Regions from separate parts of the Homo sapiens genome. Here regions 2 and 3 are each linked to region 1. Evidence: promoter capture Hi-C in human tissues and cell types (Jung and others, 2019). All regions are on one chromosome and are shown on one strand. Each heading gives the region's core, a stretch centred on a gene start or on the middle of the fragment in contact. The rest is flanking DNA. Distances are from core to core; before and after follow the strand shown.

What was found. Contacts are between HindIII fragments. The study calls those that stand out against the background at their distance.
Region 2: a contact is called between a fragment that was not itself captured here and the fragment with the promoter of AGXT in region 1, in 2 of the 25 tissues and cell types used here (IMR-90 fibroblasts and small bowel).
Region 3: a fragment that was not itself captured here is called in contact with the fragment with the promoter of AGXT in region 1 in 1 of the 25 tissues and cell types used here (IMR-90 fibroblasts).

What each region holds. Positions count from the first base shown.
Region 1 is chr2:240,865,387-240,870,351 of GRCh38, reverse strand. It overlaps AGXT (alanine--glyoxylate aminotransferase), which reads right to left and starts at 1,528. Exons shown (of 11, transcript NM_000030.3): 1 at 1,322-1,528; 2 at 990-1,182. The coding sequence starts at 1,486. RefSeq lists an enhancer at 1,509-2,009. The HindIII fragment of the contact is 24,692 bases long and covers 1-4,965 here.
Region 2 is chr2:241,110,524-241,115,488 of GRCh38, reverse strand. It overlaps PASK (PAS domain containing serine/threonine kinase), which reads left to right. Exons shown (of 18, transcript NM_015148.4): 13 at 76-201; 14 at 312-446; 15 at 3,050-3,249. Among named protein-coding and RNA genes, the nearest start is that of MTERF4, 11 kb to the right of the region's middle. RefSeq lists enhancers at 3,791-3,840, 4,111-4,410. The HindIII fragment of the contact is 3,445 bases long and covers 354-3,798 here.
Region 3 is chr2:241,044,471-241,049,435 of GRCh38, reverse strand. SNED1 (sushi, nidogen and EGF like domains 1) reads right to left here. Exons shown (of 32, transcript NM_001080437.3): 9 at 996-1,121; 10 at 670-774; 11 at 301-414. The region is part of intron 1 of SNED1-AS1 (SNED1 antisense RNA 1); the gene reads left to right. It also overlaps a transcript of MTERF4 not described here. Among named protein-coding and RNA genes, the nearest start is that of SNED1-AS1, 17 kb to the left of the region's middle. The HindIII fragment of the contact is 7,636 bases long and covers 1-4,965 here.

The DNA of each region.
Region 1 (4,965 bases), core at 279-2,778:
GCAGAGAGTGAGCTCCCGGGAGTCAGGGCTGCACCTGGCCCAGGGCTGGCACAAAGAGTGTACCTGGTCCAGGGCTGGCACACCACAGGTGTGATGGATGACAGACTGAAGGATGAGGGGTGAGTGAGGCAGCAGCCTTGACCTCTGTTGGAGCTGGGGACTCCAGGAATCAGGCCCTCACCCCCTCCCTGTCTCTGCCCTATCCTGTGTGCTGTTCAGGGCCAGGTTGTGGGAGGGGAAGAACCTGCGGCCAAGGGGACAGAATGGGGAAAAGGGAAGCCATATACCACAGGCATCTGAGCCTGCGTGCCCTGATGTCCACTTGGGGTCCTGGCCTCTGCCGACCCTGGGTCCCCTTGAAAAGTTTGTGGACTTGGGGTTGGGACCCTCTTGGCTGTTGCGGTCGCGTATTAACCAGCATGGCCATTGTGGAGCTCACCAAGCTGATGTCCCTCAATGCCACAATCAATCATTAAACCCAGGGCACACTCCTGCTCCTGTGTCTCTCCCAGAAAAGTGTACTCCGGAGGCGAATACTCTGCCCATACCTCCATATTTTGTGTATCACATCAAGATTCCAGAAGGAAGGCTGCTGAGATTTGAGGGGAGGCTTCAGCTTCTGAAACCCCACCCTGTCACAAAGCAGAGCTGGTGCCTGGGGCCCTGGACAGCGGCCGGGGCTCTCAGGAGTGTGTGCTGGGACCAGAGGCTTCCCTGTAGTTCCGTCCTGCACATGCTCCAGAAACAGCTCAAGGAGACTGGGGGGATCGGGGCACCTGTGCTGCTCCCAGCCCTATCAGAGTCAGGCCTCATGAGTGCCCGACACCGCCTGGAGGAGGCAGTGGGCTGGCAGGAGGTTCGTGCGCACAGGGCCACAAGGTGGGTAAGCGCTCACCCAGGAACGGGGGCTGCCAGCTTCAAACAGAGGGAGGCCAGGGAGGCCTTGAAGGATGGATCCAGGGCCATCCCCACCTGGGCCTCTCCCTTACCTATGCGCTCCCCGATGTCCACGGCTCGCTGCCCCCAAATGCCATTGGCCCCAACCAGGAAGGAGTCCCCAGGCTCCAGCACATTGACCAGGGCGGCCTCCAGGGCACAGTGTCCCGAGCCAGAGATGACCAGTGTGAGTGGGTTCCTGGTCTGGAACACGTACTGGATGCCTTCCTTGATCTCGTCCATGATCTGCATGCGGGTGGTATAGGGTGAGACCCAGGCTCCCCGCCTCCCCAAGTGAGGAGGCAGTGACCCCCTTCCCTCGTCCACGATCTGTGGGTGGGAACATGGGTGAGACCCAGGCCCCCCGAGTGACCCCCACTCCTACCTGGTACATATCCTTGCTCATGGACCCGATCATCTGCAGCCCCCCGGCTGCCATGATGCGAGGAGGCAGGTTGGAAGGACCAGGCCCCAGCAGGAGCTGGTTGGGGATGGAGAGGGGCTTGAGCAGGGCCTTGGGGGGGGTCACCAGCAGCTTGTGAGAGGCCATGGTCCGCACCCAACCTGCCGCTCGGGAACCTGGGGCTGCACTGGCCTTGGCCAAAGCCTGGAATATTTCCCAGCAGGGCGGACACAGAGGTGAGAGGTGAGGATTGGTGGATGGGCTTCCGTGGCAGCCCTGCCTTTTGTTCCCTGAGGCTTATCTGTGCTTGTGCTGCGGGTCACGGCCAGGCAGCAGGGGACGAAGCCCTCAGGCAGAGGGAGCCCCCAGGGCTGAGTGACAGAAAAACAGAGTGTGACAAAGCTGTCCTCACCCCAGCCCTCCTCGCTCCCACTCTGAGTCCTGCACGTCCAGCCCCTCTTATTCTGCTTAGCTCAGGGGTGAGAGAAGTGTTTCTTAAAGGGTCGGAGCACAGATAATTGAGGCTTGGCAGGCCCTGTGGTCTATGTTGCAACAACTCAACCCTGCTGCGTGCTTGCAAAGCAGCTGCCAGAGGTGTGGGCGTGTTCCTATAAAACTTTATTTACAAAAAGCAGGTGGCAGGCCAGATTGGGCCCATGGACTGTGGTTTGCTGACCCTGGCGCAGCTGATGGGAAGGCTTGTAAACCAAAAATAAAATTCGAAGGCCCCCCAGCAACCATCTGAATGGGGTTCCCTGTCCGCCAGGGTGCTCTAAACTTTAACCCGGAAGACGTTCAGGCCATGCCACATCATAACCCCCAGCATTAACATCGACATAGACCTTAAGTCTGATAGGAAGCATTTACCATCTATTTTCTCTCTAAATCCCGCTACCTGAAGGCATCATCTGCTCCCTGCAACCCCTATTTCATAACCCAGACACTCCTTTCTGCTGATAATAATTCTTCAGTCAGTTGCCAATCAAAATATGTTTAAATCTACCTATGACCTGGAAGCCCCCCAATTCAAGTTGTCCCGCCCTTCCAGATGGAACCAATGTAAATCTCCCATGTATTGATTGATGCCTCATATCTCCCTAAAATGTATAAAAGCAAGCTGTGCCCCGACCACCTTGGGCCCTTGTGGTCAGGGGTGCACCCTTGAGCTTGGCAAGGATGTCCTCCCTCCTGAGGCTGTACCACGGGTGCATCCTTAGCCTTGGCAACAAAAACTTTCTAAATTAATTGAGACCTGTTTGAGGTACTTTTTGGTTTACAGGCTCAATTTAGCAAGCAAACCTGCATGGTATACAGACACACACAAGGCAGGGGTTGCACAGTGAGTTTCAGCATGCTGCATTCCAGAGATGTATAGAAATTCTAGTTATGTATAAGTTTTAGGTTGAAAAGAGGCCTGGAACCAGGTGCCAACTTTAGATAATAGGGAAGTCTAATTCATTCTACATTTCTCAAATAAAGAGGCTCCCCTCCACCCACCCCACCTGGGGCCTGCTTGATGGTCTCCAGGTGATCTTTGCTGTCCTCATTTTCCCTCTGACAAATATCTTGGTGAAATCTTTGACCCTTCCTTTTCTGCCATGCTCATGTCCACCTGCTTCCTGTTGGGGTCTCAAGAAAGGGGAAACGGCACAGTGAAGAGGGGTGTCCAGTGCGCCTGACTACTTGCTGCTGAAAGGGAGTTCAGGGGGGTAGGTCACGTTTTTCCCTTTCTTGCTCTCGGTCATGAAGGGAATAAAGGGTCATGAAAACTTGTGCACGGAGGCACGTGATGGGATTCCATCAAGAAGCCCCACGTAAATGGGAGCTGCAGTTGCAGGCCGGTATTTCCATCAAGAAGCCCCATGTAAATCGAGCTGCAGTTGCAGGCCAGTGTTGGGAATGCATAGCCTTCTGCAGGTGGAATTGTTCTCATGTAGAACATAGAAAAGCAATCAGAGCATTAAAAAGGCAGGGACCAAATATTAAAAGAAAAATGACAGAAGATAAAGGTCTAAGGAATGGGGGAAGCCAAGTGATTTTTTGAAAACCAATCAGTAAAAGTTTTGGCCCAGTCTTGGTTGCTTTGGGAAAGTGTGTGTAGCCATTTGGCTTGTTTGATGATTTCTTGGGCATCGGTTTCCACTTCTCCAGACACATAAATGTAGGTGCAACGGGTCCTGTTGATGACAGCACAGACCCCTCCTTGTTCAGCTAGGAGGTAATCCAGAACTCACCTGTTACCAGACACCAAAATCCTGCTTGTGAGTCTAATGACTTGTAGAGCTGATAGATGGGTGCCAGCTTTTGCTATTTCAAGGGAGGCGGTAGGTTCTCTTACTTGTGATTTCCTGGTAAGTAAAACCTCCCCAAGGGGTAAGAGTTGTGATAGTTCCCACAACTCCGGCCACAGTAAGTCCCAGGGCCCTTTTCCTTCTAGAAGGGAATTCTGAATTAGAAGTGATGTTTAAGACAGTGATTTGGGTGGGAGCTATTGTTCCCAGGCTACAATCACCATAGTGAAGAGAATGATCAAGGTGGGATAGGGCCAAAGCTTGAAAAGGGTTTAAATAGTTTTTAGTGGGGCTGCTAAGCCATAAGAGCCCAGGAGGGGCAGGATGATTATTTTAATTAAAATGTTGGGAAAAAAGGAAATGGGCCTTTTGACAGTTTTAAGAGGACTCATATGGGGGAAAGACTATGTTTATGTACTGATGGAGGAGGTTTAAAAGCAGGCGGGTGCCAGTGCATGGCATAGGATGTAAACCAGGTGGCACGGTGGTTATTTCCTGCACTGGTTGCATCATTATAGTAACATACATGAAGGTATTAGGAGTGCAGGGGTGCTGTATACTGGGAGCCCCACTATACTGGTCCAGTTTAACGGCTTATAAATTGGCAGTGATGAGATAGAGTCAGATTTTTTTTTTTTTTTTTTTTGAGATGGAGTCTCACTCAGTTGCCCAGGCTGGAGTGAAGTGGTGTGACCTTGGCTCACTGCAACCTCTGCTCCTGGGTTCAAGCGATTCTCCTGCCTCAGCCTCCTGAGTAGCTGGGATTACAGGCACCTGCCACCACGCCCTGCTAATTTTTGTATTTTTAGTAGAGACAGGGTTTCACCATGTTGGTCAGACTGGTCTCGAACTCCTGACCTCAGGTGATCCACCCACCTCTACCTCCCAAAGTGTTAGGATTACAGGTGTGAGCCAGCGCACCTGGCCAGAGTCAGAGTTTTGATTGTAGGAGGCGAAGGCCTCAAATGAGTCAAAGTTAGCTGCATGAGTGTCATTATAACAAGGTGTACCTCCCAAAATAACATTACAAGTTAAGGAAGTTTCAGTGATATTGTAAGTGTGGATGGTGGGGGAAGTAATATGATAGCACGAAGAGGGAGGTGGTTTCCAATTTACCAGCACAGAAGGAAATGGTCGGGGTGGGAAGGAGTGGTGAGAAGAATAATGAAATCCCAACAGTACAGTTTGATTGGAGACAGGGTGTGCTTACGAAGAAGAATCTACATGGCTTGGAGTAGCAGGTTGTGGACGGCAAAGCCAGCCACACAGAGTATTTTCTCCTCTCACAATAGCATGTGAGATGCTGAAGATGATATTGTCAAACCAAGAGGATTG
Region 2 (4,965 bases), core at 827-3,326, 240 kb before region 1:
CTGGGTGGCCCTGGTGCAATGGGATGCTTGAGGACTGGCTCCAGCTATTTCCACTACGCTCTGTCTTCCTCACAGGTGGTGGTGAAGTTTATTAAGAAGGAGAAGGTCTTGGAGGATTGTTGGATTGAGGATCCCAAACTTGGGAAAGTTACTTTAGAGATCGCAATTCTATCCAGGGTGGAGCACGCCAATATCATCAAGGTGATGGTTTCCTCTTCAGAGATACCCTAACTTGGCTCATGTCAAATGTCTTCAATTTGTTGACTTGAAGATGTTTTGGTAGAGTTGGACTTGGCTTTGTCTCTTCCTAGGTATTGGATATATTTGAAAACCAAGGGTTCTTCCAGCTTGTGATGGAGAAGCACGGCTCCGGCCTAGACCTCTTCGCTTTCATCGACCGCCACCCCAGGCTGGATGAGCCCCTGGCGAGCTACATCTTCCGACAAGTGAGAGCAGGCCAGAGCCGTGTTAGTGTGAACGCAGGCCTGGGTGCCTGGGTCCGGTGGCTGCAAAGATCAGTGATCCATACTCGGTTCTCTCTCTGAGCTGGATCTAGCCTTCTGTGTGGGGATTTCATGGAGTAGGATATATATTTTGAGAAGAAAATTCTATGATTGAAGTAGAGAAAGTGAGGTTGGGAAGGAAGGATGAGGCCAGATACAGTCCTGGAATGACTGAGAAAGTATGTTTAATGGTTAAGGTTTATTTACATACATAAAATATCCACAACAATCATAAAAATTAACCAGTAAGGGTTAGGATGCAGCCAGAGAGCGTCTCAAAGGCATGTGTGCGGCACAGCGGCCTGCAGGTTGTAAGTGCCCACTAAATGGTGGCTGTTGAGGTAATTAACCAGCAAAACTGAGATCCTGACATTCTCACTTTTCAGTAAGTATTTGTCTTGATCTGTTTCGTGTCTAATTACATATTGAACTTCGGCCATTATTTTATTGGAATGGGAGAGTGATGATCCAAATAGGAAGGCACCCTAGCAGAGGGACAGGGGGAAGAAACGGTAACTCGTGTTGGGTTTTAAGGAGAGGGTGGCGGTTCCATCCTGTACTGCTCCCAGCTCCCCCAGAAGAACTGGAGAAATACCAGCAAAGGGCTGTGTAGACAACTCACATTTGCTCTTGGATTGTTTGCTGGGGACAACTCGATTTCTAATGACAGCTTCCGTGAATCAACATTTCTTCCTTAAAGCTACACACTCTCGGGTTGTTGGGTTTCCGAAGTTTAGTTTCTCAGGCTCCTACTTGTAAGTTTCAGATATTATGGTTCTGCAAAAAAGGGTCACCTCTCTCCCTCTTCCTGTGTTGGAAGGTGACGTCCTCCCTTTAGTTTGTGGCCAACACTTGTTTCTGAAACTTTTTACAGCAAACAGAGTATCTGTATGAGGTTATGTTGAGGGTCGCTTGTTAAAAGCTGCTGCCTGACAGCTGTTAATTCTGGGGCTAGTGAGACACATAATTATGGTGTTTATACTCTAAAATTTTTGCCAAAAGAATCTCTACCCCTTTTGTAAATATATAGACATAAATGTTATTCTATGTAAATACAGATGCACAATTTTATAAAGTATATGATCGCACATCAATGTATGTAGGAATCATGCTGGTTCTCAGGGCATTGCCTGTCAGCTCCAGATTCATCAGGACCTGCTCAGCAGCGGGGTCGGGGAGCTGGGCCTGGGAACAGCCCTGGCTTGGTTCAGGCCGCTCCAGGGCAGCATGGCCAGTCCAGGGCACAGAAGCATCTGCAGGAAGAGCAGCTTTCTTCAAGTCGCTCTTTAGCCCTTTGTGGTTAATCTCTCAGTACTAGTTAATAAATCTTAATGAAACTTTCCATGTTCAAGTTCATGTGTGATTTCTGTCTCCTGATTGGATCCTGACTGATTTGTATATATCTACATATATATGTAAGTATGTATGCATGCATGCTTGTATATGTGTATTTATGTGTGTACCTATGTACAAGTATATGTTATGTGTATAGGTATGCACACGTGTGTATGCAGGTGTGTATATATGTGCACATGTATGTATCTAAATGTATGTATAAATATGCAGGTATGTATATATAAATATGCAGGTATGTATATATAAATATGCAGGTATGTATATGTTTGTATATATGTGTATAAATATGCGTATATTTATTAAATGTAAGTTAATCGGGCTTAGCTAACCTGTGATTATTGCTCCTGATTTGAAAGATACTCATTTGTAAATATAAATTTGTCTCAAAAGATCAACATGATACATCCATGAAGTCACTAAGTTGATTGGTATAATGGGTGTCCAAATTATGACAGTCAGACGTTTAATTCATCCTAGTTGAGCTAAACTGAAAGGCCGATGTTGCTGGCCTCTGTTATTGGAGAGGCAGAGTGGGCAGGCAGTGGAGCACTGCAGCTGCACCTCCGTGGGAACGAAGCCCGTTTCCAGTGTAACTGCTTTAAGTCTGCATCATTGAGTAGCCACACATTTGGGGAAAGGATGGCTGATACGTCATGCTGCTCTCTGAGAAGCCACTGAGGCTGTGCTCCCAGCTCTGCCCCAAATTGCTGCCTGAACTCTGGGCAAGTCACTTTCCCTCCCTGTGAGCTGAGGTTATCGACTTGGTGCTTTCTCTTGGGTACTTCCCACTTAACACCAAACCTGCACCCATTCACTTGCCCACCATGAGTGTCTTTGAGCTGTGGCTTTGTGGCCTGTCTTTCCTCCTGAAATAGGCATGGTGTGCGTTGGTGGGGGCGAGTGTCTGCTGGGAAGCTTTTCTCAGCAGCAAACAGAACTCACGAGTCTCATTGATGTTGCCACCTTGCCGGCTAACGTGGCCATCCCCAGTGAACACGCCTCCTGAAGGGCTTTGTTTCCTGTTTGCTTCCAATCATATCTTCAGCATTGAAAAATCTTTCCTGTCCCCAGTTCATTATGAGTCGGAGGTTTATTTTTTCTTTGTGTTTTTTTTTGTTCCAGTTTATTTTAAATGCATATTTTAGTTGAATTGCTTTTTTAAAAAGCCCCCTCTGGCCTCCTGATTCCAGCTAGTGTCAGCAGTGGGATACCTGCGCTTGAAGGACATCATCCACCGTGACATCAAGGATGAGAACATCGTGATCGCCGAGGACTTCACAATCAAGCTGATAGACTTTGGCTCGGCCGCCTACTTGGAAAGGGGAAAATTATTTTATACTTTTTGTGGGACCATCGAGTACTGTGCACCGGAAGTTCTCATGGGGAATCCGTACGTATGCGGCTGCGGTGCGGCCCGTCCTCGTGTCCTCTGTCAGGACCCTGAGGGTGGCTTGATTTTGGGTGGGAAAATGGCTTCCTTTGTGCCTCTTTGTGATGAGTGTTGAGTGGTCAGGGTGATATGCTGGAAAGTAAGTGGGCAGGCAGGCAAGGTCATATTGGGCAAAGGCACTGGGCGATGGATATAGGAGTTAATAATTTTATTTTCTCAGCTTTTATTTGTTTGGAGTTTCATATAATAAAAAGCCAAGAAAAATATTGAAGAGTCCCCCAAAATGGCACTCTTCAAATAAGTGAAGAGGATTCTTTTTAGTTAGGTTTATTTATTTTGATGACAGGAATAATATCTATTTCAATAAAATACCGCGGGGCTGACCATACAAGAAATCAAGCACTAGAGAAAGTCCCGAGGCAGAGGATTCGTGCTGAAGGTGGAGCCCTTGGCTGGAGGGGCTGTCGCTGACCAGCCAGACTCCATGTCACTGGAGTGGGCCAGCTGAGCCTCTGCTCTGCTGTGGGGAGAAGCGGCGTCCTTGGGTGTGTGGCTGAGTTTGCATCTCTGCAGTCTGGGGAGCCTGTGAGTCGGGGGCCGGCCTGGGCAGGGCCTCCTCTCGGGGGACTTTAGAGAGGAAAGCAAAACGGAAAGGAAGATTGTGGTTCATTTGTAGGGCCTGAGTGGAGACTGTCTGCTGACGTGCCCGATCACTGTCTCATCTGCCTGTAAACCAAATGTGTCTATGTGTATGAAATAGACTTTATTAAGTCAGAAATAGATAGCAGGTGTTTTCCACTAACACCTACATGTATTTTAGAGAGGTGTGGTTGGAATGCATCTCTAGGTGAGTTCATGGTTAGAGAGTCGGATGATCACAGCACTGCTTGGACCCTCCTGGCCCTCTGCTGCAGTGCTCTGCTGCACCGCCCATATCTGCTCCATGTGGTTCTCTAGGAGGGAAGCTGATGCTGCCCCCACAGGAGAGGCACACGGGGTCCCTCACAGACCTGCTGCACCTGACCTGGTGGCCTGAGGCCAGGGCATTTGCTCGCAGTCACGCACGAGCTCCATGCCGTGCCTTGGGCTCTCGGGAGGGCCTCAGCATTGGGGAGAGGAGTGGCTGGGCTCTGGATCCTGGTGTCTGCTTAGGCCATATTTCATTAGGAGGTGCAGGTTCCAGGCTGCACACCCTGAGTCCTCAGAGCCCAGCAGCCTCAGCCTGCGCCAACCTCTCCATGCCAGGCAGCGTTGAGCTCTTCTGGGCCTGGATGCCCTGTGTGCAGAGTATGGAGGAAGTGAAAATGGGCTCTTCCCCGCTAGAACCTCCATGCATCTTCAGAGCCACCAAACAGCGTGAAATATCGAAGGGGGTTGGTCTAAGAAGGGCCGTGGAGTTTCCCTTCAGATCTAGTTTGGTTGCCCTAGAGCCTGGTGGGCGCTGGTGGGCTCTGCCTGCCCTGCAGTGGTTGTCGTGCCCTCCGTGCTGGAGGGAACTGCCTGTCCCCTGTCCACTGACCCATGATGCCTGCTGCATGGCTTGTCACCCCTTCCTGTACCCAGGCCGTGAAGCTTGGGGAGGGTGCAGGGGGGATCCAACCTGGGCGAGAGCTCAGTGCTGCTTGGCCACCTTGGCCCTGCCTCCCAGAGCTGTGGCTCCCACCCTCTCCCTGAGCGCCTGCCCTGCCAGGGCTCTGCCCTGCCTCCTGGCCTCTC
Region 3 (4,965 bases), core at 926-3,425, 180 kb before region 1:
GCCTAATTATGTATGCATTAAATATTTTAATAGCTTGTGTTGGGGCTTAGGTAAGATACCACATGGTGTTTGTATACTTGCAGAAGTGCTTTTCCCCCTGTGAGCTTACTCCACTGGGGAAGAGGAGATGTCTAGCCCCATATTACAGGAAGGCTATTGAGAGAGGCTTCCCCAGGTGCCAGCTCTCCCGAGAGTCAGAAGGGAAGTAGGGACTCTGGCCTCTGCCTGCCTCATCCACCGCTTTCTCCCTGGCTTCTGTCCGGGCCCCCGGCCCAGCAGGCTCGTCCCCGAGCTACTCACAGTGGCTGGCATTGTGGTCGGTGTGGCAGACGCAGAGGTAGCTCCCGCCGTGCTCCATGCAGTAGCCCCCATCTGGGCACTGTGTGTTCATGTTGCAGGGCATGGCTGTGATTTCTAGAGAGAAAGGAGGAAGCCCCATCCCATATTCCACATGTCTTCCAGCAGACCTCGAGTCCTTGTCAAGGATGGGGCCTCCCAAGACCCAGTGGCCCCAACAGGTTCAGGCACTCTTGTGGCCAGTCCCTCCTGGGTGGGGGTAGAACCAATGGTCGACAGTCTGGACCTACGGACCCCGGCCGAAGCCACCATTCATTTCCCGATTATGAGGATGCTCAGGGACAGGGCAGGAAGGGTGACCTGGGCACCTACCAAATTCACAGAGAAGCCCAAAGAATCCCAGGGGGCACTGGCAGAGGGTGGTGTTGGCGCCCAGGCATCTGCCTCCGTTGCGGCACTCACAGTCATCGGGGACTCCTGCCACGAAGAGAGGGAGGAGCCTCCCATGTGGGGGCGCAGAAAGATGGCACCCTCGCTCCAGACCCTGCCCTGCTCCTGGCCAACTTCCCATACAAATTGCAGTGGACGCGCACTCACACGTTTCTTTTCGGGGCGTTTCCTGCATGCACCCACAGGAAGGCCCTCCCTGGGTCTCCTGCCCCAGCCCTAAAACGGCAGCCCTTGCAGCCCAGACGCACTCTCCCTGCAGTCCAGGCCCATGAAGCCTTCGGGGCACTCGCACACGTAGCCCTGGTCCGCATCCACACAGGTGCCCCCATTGTGGCAAGGGGCCGAGAGGCAGGCGTCTGGCACTGGATGGTCTCCTGCAAGAAAGACGGCAGTCACCAGCGGCCACGCAGGGAATGTGGGGAGAGTGGTCTCCCCGCCCAGCTCCAATGGCACCTTTGGGTTTTCACCTCTGTTGTCATTCCCAAGTGGAATTTAAGCCAGAAGCTTATTTCTGGAAATGGATTTGTAGCTGCGCTGCACCCCATGGAGCTCAGCATCTCCCAGCTCCTTCCTCGACAGAACAAGAAGCACCAGAGAAACCACCCAGGATTGGACAGAACAAGAAGCACCGGAGAGACCACCCAGGATTGGACAGAACAAGAAGCACCGGAGAGACCACCCAGGATTGGACAGAACAAGAAGCACCAGAGAGACCACCCAGGATTGGACAGAACAAGAAGCACCAGAGAGACCACCCAGGATTGGACAGAACAAGAAGCACCGGAGAGACCACCCAGGATTGGACAGAACAAGAAGCACCAGAGAAGCCACCCGGGATTGGACAGAACAAGAAGCACCAGAGAAACCACCTGGGAATGGACAGAACAAGAAACACCAGAGAGACCACCCAGGATTGGATAGAACAAGAAGCACCAGAGAAGCCACCCAGGAATGGACAGAACAAGAAGGACCAGAGAGACCACCCAGGGGCCAGGGGCCTCCAAACGTTTCTGGTCAGGCATCCCTATCAGTGAAGTATTTGGGATTTTCCAGATATCTTTCTGCTGATCTCTAGTTTAATTTTGCTATGGTCAGAAAACACAATCCTTTTCAATGTATTGGGCCTTACTTATGGCTCACAATATGGCCTATGATGGCCAAGAGCACTTGAGAATAACGTGAGTGCTCTATAAATGCCAAGTAGGCCAAGCCCAAGTCTCCTCTAGCTTTACTGATTTCCTGTGTACATGTTCTATGAACCACTGAGAGGGGAGTGTCGAAATCTCCACCAATAATTATGGACCTATTTCTCCTTGCAGTTCAGTCAGCTTTTGCTTCATGTGAATAGGTGTTAATAGGTACAAGTATATCTAGAGTTATGTCTTCTGGATGAATTGACCCCTCTATCGTTATAAAAGGTCCCTCCTAATTCCCAGCAGTATTCCCCATTCTAAAGTTTAATTTATTCGATATTAATATAGCCACTGCAGCATTATCTTGATTAGTTTACCTAATTTACTTTTTTTTTTTTTTTTTTTTTTTGACAGAGTCTCGCTCTCTTGCCAGGCTGGAGTGCAGTGCAGTGGCGCGATCTCGGCTCACTGCAACCTCCAACTCCCTGGGGTTCAAGTGATTCTCCTGCCTCAGCTTCCCGAGTAGCTGGGATTATAAGCACGTGCTACCACACCCAGCTAATTTTTGTATTTTTAGTAGAGATGGGGTTTCACTCTGTTGGCCAGGATGGTCTTGATCTCCTGACCTCGTGATCCGCCTGCCTTGGCCTCCCAAAGTGCTGGGATTACAGGGGTGAGCCACCACGCCAGCTACTTTTTGGTTTTTAAAAGATGTTCAGTTTCTTCACGTGCTTTCAAAATGTGTCTTTGTAAATCAGTATACAGTAAAATTGACTTTTGTTCACCACACCTCTATGAATTTTAACACATATATAGATTTGTTTAACCCCCACCACAGTCAGGATACAGAACATTCCATCTCCCTGAAAGACTTCTTTGGTCTATCTCTTCAGAGTCACAGAGCTCCTGTTACCCCTCAGTCCCTGGCAACTACTGATTTGTTCATCACTATAGTTTTGTTTTACGAAGAATGCCATTTAGTGGAACCATACAGGATATAATCTTTGAGACTGGCTTCTTTCACTCAGCATAATTCCCCTGAGATCCATCTAAGTTGTCGTATGTATCTATAATTGGTCCTTTTTATGACTGAGTAGTATTCCACCATACAGAGGTTCCACAATTTGTCTATCCATTCACCCAGTGAAGGGTATTTGAGTTTTGGGGTTTGGTGATTATAAATAGAAATAATATAAACATCTGTATATGGATTTGTGTGTAAACATAAGTTTTCATCTCTTTAGAGTTAATACAAGGAGTGGGATTGCTGGGGCATATTATAAGCATATACTTAACCTTATAAAAAACCTGCCAAACTGTTTTTAGAGTGGCTGAACCATTTTGCATTTCCACTAAAAATGTGTGAGAGTTCCAGTTGCTCTGTATCTACACCAGGTCAGTATTATTTTTTTTAGGCATTCTAATGAGTTTGTTGTGATTCCTCGTAGTGGCTTTTATTTGCATTTCACTAATGGCTGATATTAATGACAAGAGTATTTTTCCATCCGTTTATTCACCTCCATATATGTATCTTTTGTGGCCAAGTATCCGTTCAAGTCTTTTGTCCATTTTTAAAATTGGGTTGTTTGTTTTCTCACAGTTGAGATTTGAGAATTCTTGGTGTATTCTGATCACAAGTCCTTTGTTGGGTATGAGTTTTGCAAACGTTTTCTCCTGGTCTGTAGCTTGTCTTTTTATTCTTTTAACCATGTCTTTCACAAAGCAAAAGTTTTAAATTTTGATGAAGTCTAATTTATCTTTTTCTTTTTAATGAATCATGCTTTTGCTGTCTTATCTAAGAACACTTTGCTTAAGACCAGGTCATAAATTTTTTTTTTTTTTGCCTATGTTTTCTTCTAAAAATCTTATAGTTTATGTTTTTCCATTTAGGTCTATGATCCATTTTGAGTTAATCTTTGTATAAGGTGTGAGGTTGAAGTTGAGGTTTTTTTTTTATACATATAAGGATATTTAATTGTTTCAACCCCATTTGTTGAAAAGATTATCATTTCTCCATTGGATTTAAATCTTTTTCAAAAATTAATTGGCTATATTTGTTTGGGCTTAATTCTGAATTTCCTCTCCTGTTTCATTGATCCATGTGTCAGTCCCTTTGCCAATATCACACTGAATTGATCACTGTGGCTTTACAGTAAATCTTAATACTCAGTAGTGTGATTCCTCAAAATTTATTCTTCATCAAAATTGTTTTGGTTTTCTAAATTCTTTTTCTTGCCATATAAATTTTAGAAGCAGTTTGTCTACATTTACAAAAGATTCTGCTGAGACCTCTGTTGGAATCATGTTAAATCTATAAATCAATTTAGAGAGCACTGCCATATTTACTACGTTGAGTCTTCTAATCCATGAACATGGTATGTCTGTCCATTTACTTGATCTTGATTTCTTTCATCAGCACTTTGTAGTTTTTCAGCATGCAAATTCTCTAATGTTTTAGTAGATTTATACTAAAGTCTTTCAATTTGAGAGGAGCTATTATAAATGGTATTGTCAATACAATTTAGATCAGATTACACAGATTCCTTCAACTTGGGGGAGCTCAGGAGTTCATAAGTAACTTTATGGAGTTGCTGTCCCAAGATTCACCCTCCAGTTTCCCCAGTACTTTCCAGTTTTCTGGGGCTACCTTTTTCAGTCCTCTGGCAAAAACGCTGCGGCTTTTATTTCCCTACCTTGCCACTTTTATAATGATGGCATTCATGGCTGGGACCAAGTAATGGGATGACAGACAAAGGGAAAAACAACAGGAAAGGGAAAAACAATACCCAACCCCTTTGAAACCACAGCACCTCCAACTGGAGAGGAAGGTTTCTTCCTTCGCAGTTTAAGGGCACTTGAGGATTCCCCAACTTCTGCACTGTCAGCCCTGCTTCTTAAGCTGGACTAGAGGGCTTCTCCTGGAGCACTCTTTCTGTCCGTGTGGATGCCCACTTCTGGTTTTGAGGTGGCTTTGAGTCCTGGCTGGGGGGATACCAAAGCAAAAAACAAAAAATGGTAAACTCACCACTGGTTTGGTGGTACTTCGAAGCTTGGTCTTCTTCCCCAATCCACCTGCTACTATTTA